Linked DNA regions of Homo sapiens: region 2 is linked to region 1. Evidence: promoter capture Hi-C in 16 types of primary human blood cells and fetal thymus (Javierre and others, 2016). All regions are on one chromosome and are shown on one strand. Each heading gives the region's core, a stretch centred on a gene start or on the middle of the fragment in contact. The rest is flanking DNA. Distances are from core to core; before and after follow the strand shown. Region 1 holds the start of PSME2 (proteasome activator subunit 2). Region 2 holds the start of C14orf93 (chromosome 14 open reading frame 93).

What was found. Contacts are between HindIII fragments. The CHiCAGO score rates a contact against its expected background, and 5 or more counts as called.
Region 2: a contact is called between the fragment with the promoter of C14orf93 here and the fragment with the promoter of PSME2 in region 1, in 1 of 17 cell types (non-activated CD4 T cells). The highest score is 5.0, in non-activated CD4 T cells.

The regions. Positions count from the first base shown.
Region 1 is chr14:24,144,179-24,147,860 of GRCh38, reverse strand. PSME2 (proteasome activator subunit 2) reads left to right here and starts at 1,251. Exons shown (of 11, transcript NM_002818.3): 1 at 1,251-1,327; 2 at 1,621-1,653; 3 at 2,089-2,151; 4 at 2,396-2,482; 5 at 2,588-2,618; 6 at 2,706-2,803; 7 at 3,393-3,461; 8 at 3,602-3,669. The coding sequence starts at 1,280. RNF31 (ring finger protein 31) reads right to left here and starts at 363. Exons shown (of 21, transcript NM_017999.5): 1 at 1-363. The coding sequence starts at 162. RefSeq lists silencers at 96-325, 356-445, 1,146-1,205 and enhancers at 287-581, 128-628, 766-835. The HindIII fragment of the contact is 5,988 bases long and covers 1-1,570 here.
Region 2 is chr14:23,008,438-23,012,119 of GRCh38, reverse strand. It overlaps C14orf93 (chromosome 14 open reading frame 93), which reads left to right and starts at 1,977. Exons shown (of 7, transcript NM_021944.4): 1 at 1,977-2,019. LOC124903286 (a long non-coding RNA gene) reads right to left here. Exons shown (of 2, transcript XR_007064075.1): 2 at 3,136-3,682. RefSeq lists a silencer at 1,639-1,988 and an enhancer at 3,616-3,682. The HindIII fragment of the contact is 8,647 bases long and covers 1-3,341 here.

The DNA.
Region 1 (3,682 bases), core at 2-2,501:
TGCGGCGTCCAGCTGCAGGTAGCGGGCGGCTAGCGGCAGAGAGCTGGCTAGTAGCGGCCGGAGCTGCTCCAGGGAAAACGCCTGCCCGGAATCCCTCCTCAGGGCGCTCGCCAGCTCCTCGCGGGCCACCAGGAAGGCCCGCTCCTCTTCCTCCCCCGGCATCCTGAGGCAGGAGTCAGCCCCAGCCTCGCCGCCCGCCAGGACCCGGCGCGGGCAGCGCGCGGCCCGAGCGCCGCCCCTCCCGTCTGGTGCCCGGCTTTGAGGCCCACCCCGGCCCACGCAGCCGCCCCAGGTCACTCAGACCACGGTCACTCTCCAGCCCCCGGCCCAGCGCCAGGGTTAGCCGAGAACAGGAAGTACTAGGAGAGAGGGTGGGACTGCGACCCAATTTCGGAGGAACGGGCGGGGCTTAAGGTTAAGGTTGGAGCGGTGTCAGGAAACCAGGGGGCGCGGCCAAGAGGGAGGGCCAGGTCCCAACCAATGAGAAGGCAAATGGCTCCTGGCTCCTCCCTCAGAGCGCGCCAGCATCTTCCCTCAGTCAAGCGCTCTTCCCCGCCTTCCCCCAATCTGGTTCCACCCCTTCCGGATAGCCGCAGGCGCGGGGTTATCCTATTCAGCTCAAAACCTTTCTTTTTCTAGCTGGACCAGTCCGGTACGCTCCGGGCCTCACCGAGGAAGTCCCACCCTGCAGGGGAACCGACTCTGGCCGGCCCTAACCCCTCTCGAGCGAGTCCCGCCCCATCTCCGGTCTGTCCTGAAGGCAGAGGGAAGACCCTCACCCAACCCCTGCCCGCTCTCTTCTAAGAGCTGCTAGTCCTTCTCCACCCCAGGCGCTCCCTCTGGCTGCCCCTCCCACTCGCTCTGATCTCTCTCCGTCCGCTACTTGCGGTCGAGCCTTCTTGGGGGAGCCCCGCCACTGAATACCCCCTTTGCCATACTCCCACCTCTCTTACCCCAACCCTGGACTTCCAGTTGGCCCTAGCTATAAGCCCCGCCCCTCTCCGAGGGACAGCCCCCGCTCCAGTCTCCGCGGTCCCACTTACCCTAGCCCCTCCCTCGGGCAGCCCCTGGACTGTGACCCAGCCAGCACCGCCTCTCCTAGTGGCAACTGGCTGGGAATGGCTGAGGGGCTACCTACTGCTTGCGGCCTGCCAGCGGGAGGAGGGGGGCGGAAAGAAGAAAGGGGGCGGGGTTGAGGGGGGCGGGCCTGGACCTGGGGAGTGAAAGCGAAAGCCCGGGCGACTAGCCGGGAGACCAGAGATCTAGCGACTGAAGCAGCATGGCCAAGCCGTGTGGGGTGCGCCTGAGCGGGGAAGCCCGCAAACAGGTAATGGGGAATCGGAGGCCAGGAAGGGGTCATAGAACCCTCTTGGGTGGAGGCCAAGCTGGGTGGTTCAGGGGACCAAGCAGTGCCAGAGAACTCCCCCAATCTCGCTAGTGCCTTCACTTCTCGGGGATTCCCAGATTCCTGCCTTCTGACTGCAGTGAGCAGGAGCTTCCAGGGAAAGCTAGTTTGTGGTGAGAAAGGCCTGAGCCACAGTTCGAGGGCACCCTGTTGTGGGTGGAAGCTTTTGACAACCCAGACCCTTAACCAACATCCGGGTACTGCTCTCTGTGTAGGTGGAGGTCTTCAGACAGAATCTTTTCCAGGAGGTAAGTCTCTGGATTTGAGCGATTTGACCCAGAATCTTGGACCAATACTTGAGGATAACAGCCTCTCAGAATGACCCCCCCAAGTCACCCTAGACTTAACCCTACTTCCCTTACCAAGCCTTCACCCAAAGTAACCCCGGAATTATTGATAGCTACCTTTAATCTGACCTTTCTTATGACTCTCCCGACTTCTGGCACTTCTCCCGTCTTTTGATGTGGAGGAAAAAAACCATGGCTTCCAAAGCAGGAATATCACAGTCCTAACCTTCGTTCTGCCATTTACCAGCTTGGGCAAGTCCTTTCATTTTCAGGTCTTCAGTTTCCTCATTTGCAAGTCTTGGACCCAGTGATTTCCAAAGGCCCTTCCAGTTCCATTTGTCAGACATCTCATTGAGCATATTCTGTGATTCCCCTCCCTTGCAATGTAACCCACAGGCTGAGGAATTCCTCTACAGATTCTTGCCACAGAAAATCATATACCTGAATCAGCTCTTGCAAGTGAGTAGTGTGGGCCCCTTCTGCCCCATCCTATGTCCTCTATCCCCTTTGCCCACCCTCTCTAGCTAACAACTGGATTCAGCATGCAGAGAATAGTTTCAAATAGTGGATTAGGAACATTAGGATGGCGTGAGGCATGAGCCTAGGTTGGGAGGCAGAGTGCAAGTGGGATGTATGGAGGGAAGGCTGTGACCTAGGATGAAGGGAAGAGGTTGGGCAGCCCTTGACAGTGAGCTCTGTGCAGGAGGACTCCCTCAATGTGGCTGACTTGACTTCCCTCCGGGCCCCACTGGACATCCCCATCCCAGACCCTCCACCCAAGGATGATGAGGTGAGGCACTCAGGGTGCAGGACTTGGACTATAAACCCAATGGAGAAGATAGCCCTTCAACCTCTGTGACTTTTCTAAAGCTACTTTCCCCCCTTTTTGCCTTAGATGGAAACAGATAAGCAGGAGAAGAAAGAAGGTAAGAGAGATAAGAGGTGACTAGGGAAGGGGTGATGGCACACTGACTACTGGATGAGAAAGGGCCTGAATCCCCTCTTTCTCACAGTCCATAAGTGTGGATTTCTCCCTGGGAATGAGAAAGTCCTGTCCCTGCTTGCCCTGGTTAAGCCAGAAGTCTGGACTCTCAAAGAGAAATGCATTCTGGTAAGCCTGGGAAATGGGGGAAGCAGAAAGAGAAGACACACAAGGTGAGGCCCTGGACTCCTCCGTAGATACAAGTCCTTCATACAGAGACCTAGTCCTGAAAAAGAAAACTTCCTTCTGTGCCTTGGGCTTAGATCCCCTTTGTTCTCCTCGTTCTGTTAGACCTCTCTTATCACAACGGTACCCCCAAAATTAGAGACTGTGCAGTATCCACTCTGTAACCTCAGAACCTACTGCTGTATTGGGTTCATAGTAGAGGTGGTATGATATAGTGAGTGAATTGTTTTAAAAGATTGGACCCTAGAGAGAGACTGCTTAGGTTCAAATCGTGATTCTATCAGTTACCTAGCTGGTAGCCTTAAGTAAGTCACTTAGACATTCTGTGACTCAGTTTTTTCATCTGTTAAATGGGTACAATAAATACATATCTCTGAAGGTTGCTGTGATGATTACATGAAATAAATACATGGCACAGTACCTGGTATGTAATAAGTACCCAATTAAATATAACTTTTTTTAGGAAGTGACAGTAATAGGAAGAACTCAGTATGTTTGTTGAATGATTCTTACATGATACCTCTTAACACAGGTGATTACATGGATCCAACACCTGATCCCCAAGATTGAAGATGGAAATGATTTTGGGGTAGCAATCCAGGTAAGAAAAGGGTAACTGAAGATACTTAGAGTGGGGAGAGCCTCAGGGGGTGAGCTAGACATGAACCAGGAGGAGGAGGAAGATAGTGTATGAAATGGGGAGGACATGAAGTGTTGTCTTTGCCTCCCGTGTCACCACAGGAGAAGGTGCTGGAGAGGGTGAATGCCGTCAAGACCAAAGTGGAAGCTTTCCAGACAACCATTTCCAAGTGAGGGCAGCTG
Region 2 (3,682 bases), core at 728-3,227, 1.1 Mb after region 1:
AATAAGTGTTCACAAATTGCTACTTACTATAGAAGGGAAATTCTTGTGAGATGTGAGTTTCAGAATCTGTGTTTTAGCTAGAAAAGAAATTCACTTATTTGATCATAAATGATTTTTGGCCCGGCATGGTGGCTCACGCCTGTAATCCCAGCACTTTGGGAGGCTGAGGCTGGTGGATCACGAGGTCAAGAGATCCAGACCATCCTGACTAACACGGTGAAACCCCGTCTCTACTAAAAATACAAAAAATTAGCCAGACTTGGTGGCGGGCGCCTGTAGTCCCAGCTACTCGGGAGGCTGGGGCAGGAGAATGGCGTGAACCTGGGAGGTGGAGCTTGCAGTGAGCCGAGATCGGGCCACTGCACTCCAGCCTGGGCGACAGAGCGAGACTCCAGCTCAAAAATAAATATAAATAAATAAATGATTTTTTTGGTCAGTGTTTACTAAATATCTACAATTATGCCAGCTACTGCAGTAAGAATCAAACAGTTCCTGGATGGAAAAACAATTTTAAGATATGATCACTGACCTCAAACAGTTTACTGGAGTGAAATTACTAAAATATGTGAATCAAGGTAGAGTTACGTGCCGCTAACTGGAGTACACATGAAATTCATGTTGATGGGAGCGGAGAGAAGGAAGTAAGCAGTCTGTGCTGAAAGAGAATGGATAAAAATTGACCAGTCAGGGAAGGGGAGACGCATAATTCAGGCCAAAAAAAAAAAAAAAAGCCACTTGAGTAAAGGAATAATACAAGATTGATAAGACGAGCGTAGAGGGAACTAAGAACAAATATGTGCCCAGGCGCGGTGGCTCACGCCTGTAATCCCAGCACTTTGGGAGGCCAAGGCGGGAGGATAACTTGAGGTCAAGAGCTCAAAACCAGCCTGGCCAACATGGTGAAACCCCGTCACTACTTAAAAAAAAAAAATAGCCGGGCGTGGTGGCATATATCCGTAATCCCAGCTACTCGGGAGGCTGAGGCAGGAGAATCGCTTGAGCCTCGGAGGTGGGGGTTGCAGTGAGCCGAGATCACATCACTGAAAAAAAAAAAAAAAAGGCAGGGTGGGCACATCACCTCAAGTCAGGAGTTCAGGACCAGCCTGGCCAACATGGCGAAACCCTGTCTCTACCAAAAACAAAAAAAATTAGCTGGGTGCAGTGGCGCACGCCTGTAGTCCCAGCTTCTTGGGAGGCTGAGGCAGGAGAATCGCTTGGGCGGGGTGGGGGTGGGGGTGGGGGTGGGGGCGGAGGGGCGGAGTTTACAGTGAGCGAAGATCATACCACTGCACTCCAGCCTGGGTGACAGAGCGAGACTCTGTCTAAATAAATAAATAAATAACAAATAGGTGGGTGGGACCAGATTATGGGTGGCTTAAAATCCAGGTATACCAGCTGTCTTCCTGGAAATAAAGAGGAGCCACTTTAGTTTTGAGAATGTGGTCTGAGCCAGGTAGATAAACTGGGAGCTCGGGCTGAAGTGTAAGACTTCAGAAAGATGTTCCATACGTGAATGTTCATTTAAACGTGGGGGTGTTAAGCAACACACGTGACCCAGAGACATTTCACCTGGAAACCGGAGTAGGGCCCACGCACCAAGTCCCTGATGTTTAATTGCAGTCTAGAATGTTACTGACTAGTTCACTCAATTTAACAAAGTGTCCGGAGGTCGCTCACTGGATTGTTATGCTGGTGACTGGGCCTTGTTTCACTGAGAAAAAAAGATGGGAAAGGGTGACAGGACGGTGAGAAAGTGAAAGGGAGAGAGGTGGGAAAGGGGTCTGCCAAGGTCCAGGCGAGGTTGGGGGTCGGGGGTCCGGCGGCCCTCAGGGCCCCCCCCGCCCCCAACTCCGGGGTTGGCGCCTCGGGCGCGGCGCGTGTGCTTGCGGGCGGGGCGCCCCGCGGCCGCGGACGGCCAATCCGGGAGGGCGTCCGGGGAGGGGCGGGGCTTGCCGGCTCGGGCTCCGCGAGTCCTCCTTTTTGCACACACACGAATACAAAGAGCCATACGACCTTCGGGTATCCTTTTTCCATTTTTTTTCCTCCTTAATCTTGTGTGTGTTTTCAAATTTTTTAAAAATAGAGATCTGTAGCAGTGTTGGGGTGAGGAAACTGTTGCTAAGGGGAATTTGCTCTTTCCCCCATTTCTTTTTCTGTCTCTCTTCCTCTTTCTTTTTCCTGGTCAAGGTTTTAAATATACCAAGAAGTTGAGAAGCAGGATGGCCGTGTACAACCGTTTCCGGCCAAATTTATAGTTTTTTTTTCTTTTTTTTAAATCACATTTTAAGAACTGGTAGATTTTTGTGGTTGAGGGACTTTAAAAATTTAGCCGCTTGGGAAGTACAGAATTTTTTAAGCGGGCTGAAGGGATAATGTAAATTTCTGCCACAGGCAACATCGAAGGAAGCAGAGAGATTTGAGGCTCCCTCATAAAGCCGTTTGCGTGCTTTTTACACACCCACCCCCCCAGAACCAAAACCAAGTGGCTGGGATGTGGCACTTGTCCAAGGCCAATAAGTTAATATTGGGATATTATAATGGAGACATTCATTTCCCTAGGGAAGGGGGAAAGACCTTAATTACAGTGTGTCTTTCACACACATTTTCATTAGAACATTTGTGTGTGTGTGTGTGTGTTTCTTGAAACAAATTTGTAAAGTTATAACTTGGGGTTATTTGTGTATATGTACAATATGTGTGTATATGTGCCATATCAGATTTTATTTTCAAAAGTGATAAATATATCTGGTTTTATGTGTGCAAAGTATCCCCTAGGATGTGAATTTTTTTCCGTTGTCTTCCCAAATGTGATCAAAATATTTTGTGTGCAAAGCAGAGCTTAGAAGAAATCCTATGCTTAGCATACTTAGGCACTTTCTATGTGCATTTACTATATTTTTCTGCTCCTAAAGGATCAGAATAATGAATAATTAAATAATTGCCAAGGAGTATATAGTCCATGTGGCAAATGAGAGTAGGCAATTTATTGAATCTGTGGTTCAAAGCCTTCAGTGACTGTTTTGCCTAAGTGGTTTTGCTTTTTATTGTCTCACGTTCTTAAGTGTACAGCTGTGTATATTTTGGCCTTTATGTGTGGTTTGGTTGGTGTGTTCAGAAGGGAAGTTCTTTCTTGGCTTTTTGACAAAATGGTCGTTTATTGGTTGGAATATTCGAAAAGCTCCACAGCTGGCAAAGTATCAGGAAAAAAATCCAGTCAAGTGTAATTCTCAAAAACTGTTCATGGTGATGGTGATGGGGAGCCAAGAGGATGCAAAGGCAAATAATAGAAGGGATAAGAAATGCCTTTTGGTTATCATGTTGCATTTTTAGAATGGAAAGCTTCTCATTTCTAAGAGTCACAGAAAAAAGTATATGAATTAGAGAAAAACAGGCTCGCAGAGCAGAACCTCCTGTTATAGGAGCCCTATTTTCACTTCATTCTGTTACAGAATCACTATCTCCTCATTAGAAGTTGTATGGAAAATATCTGTATCCAAATTTGTATTCGCAGATTGGAGTGAAAGCATAGGAGGTATATGAGGTGCTGAGGGAGAAACTGGAATGTCACAAATGCAGTGACAACCAGGAGACAAAAAAAAAAATCTACTGTAGAATTTAAATTTCATTACAACAAAACTTCTGTATAATAATGCATTTCTATTACACAGCTAGCATCCTACTC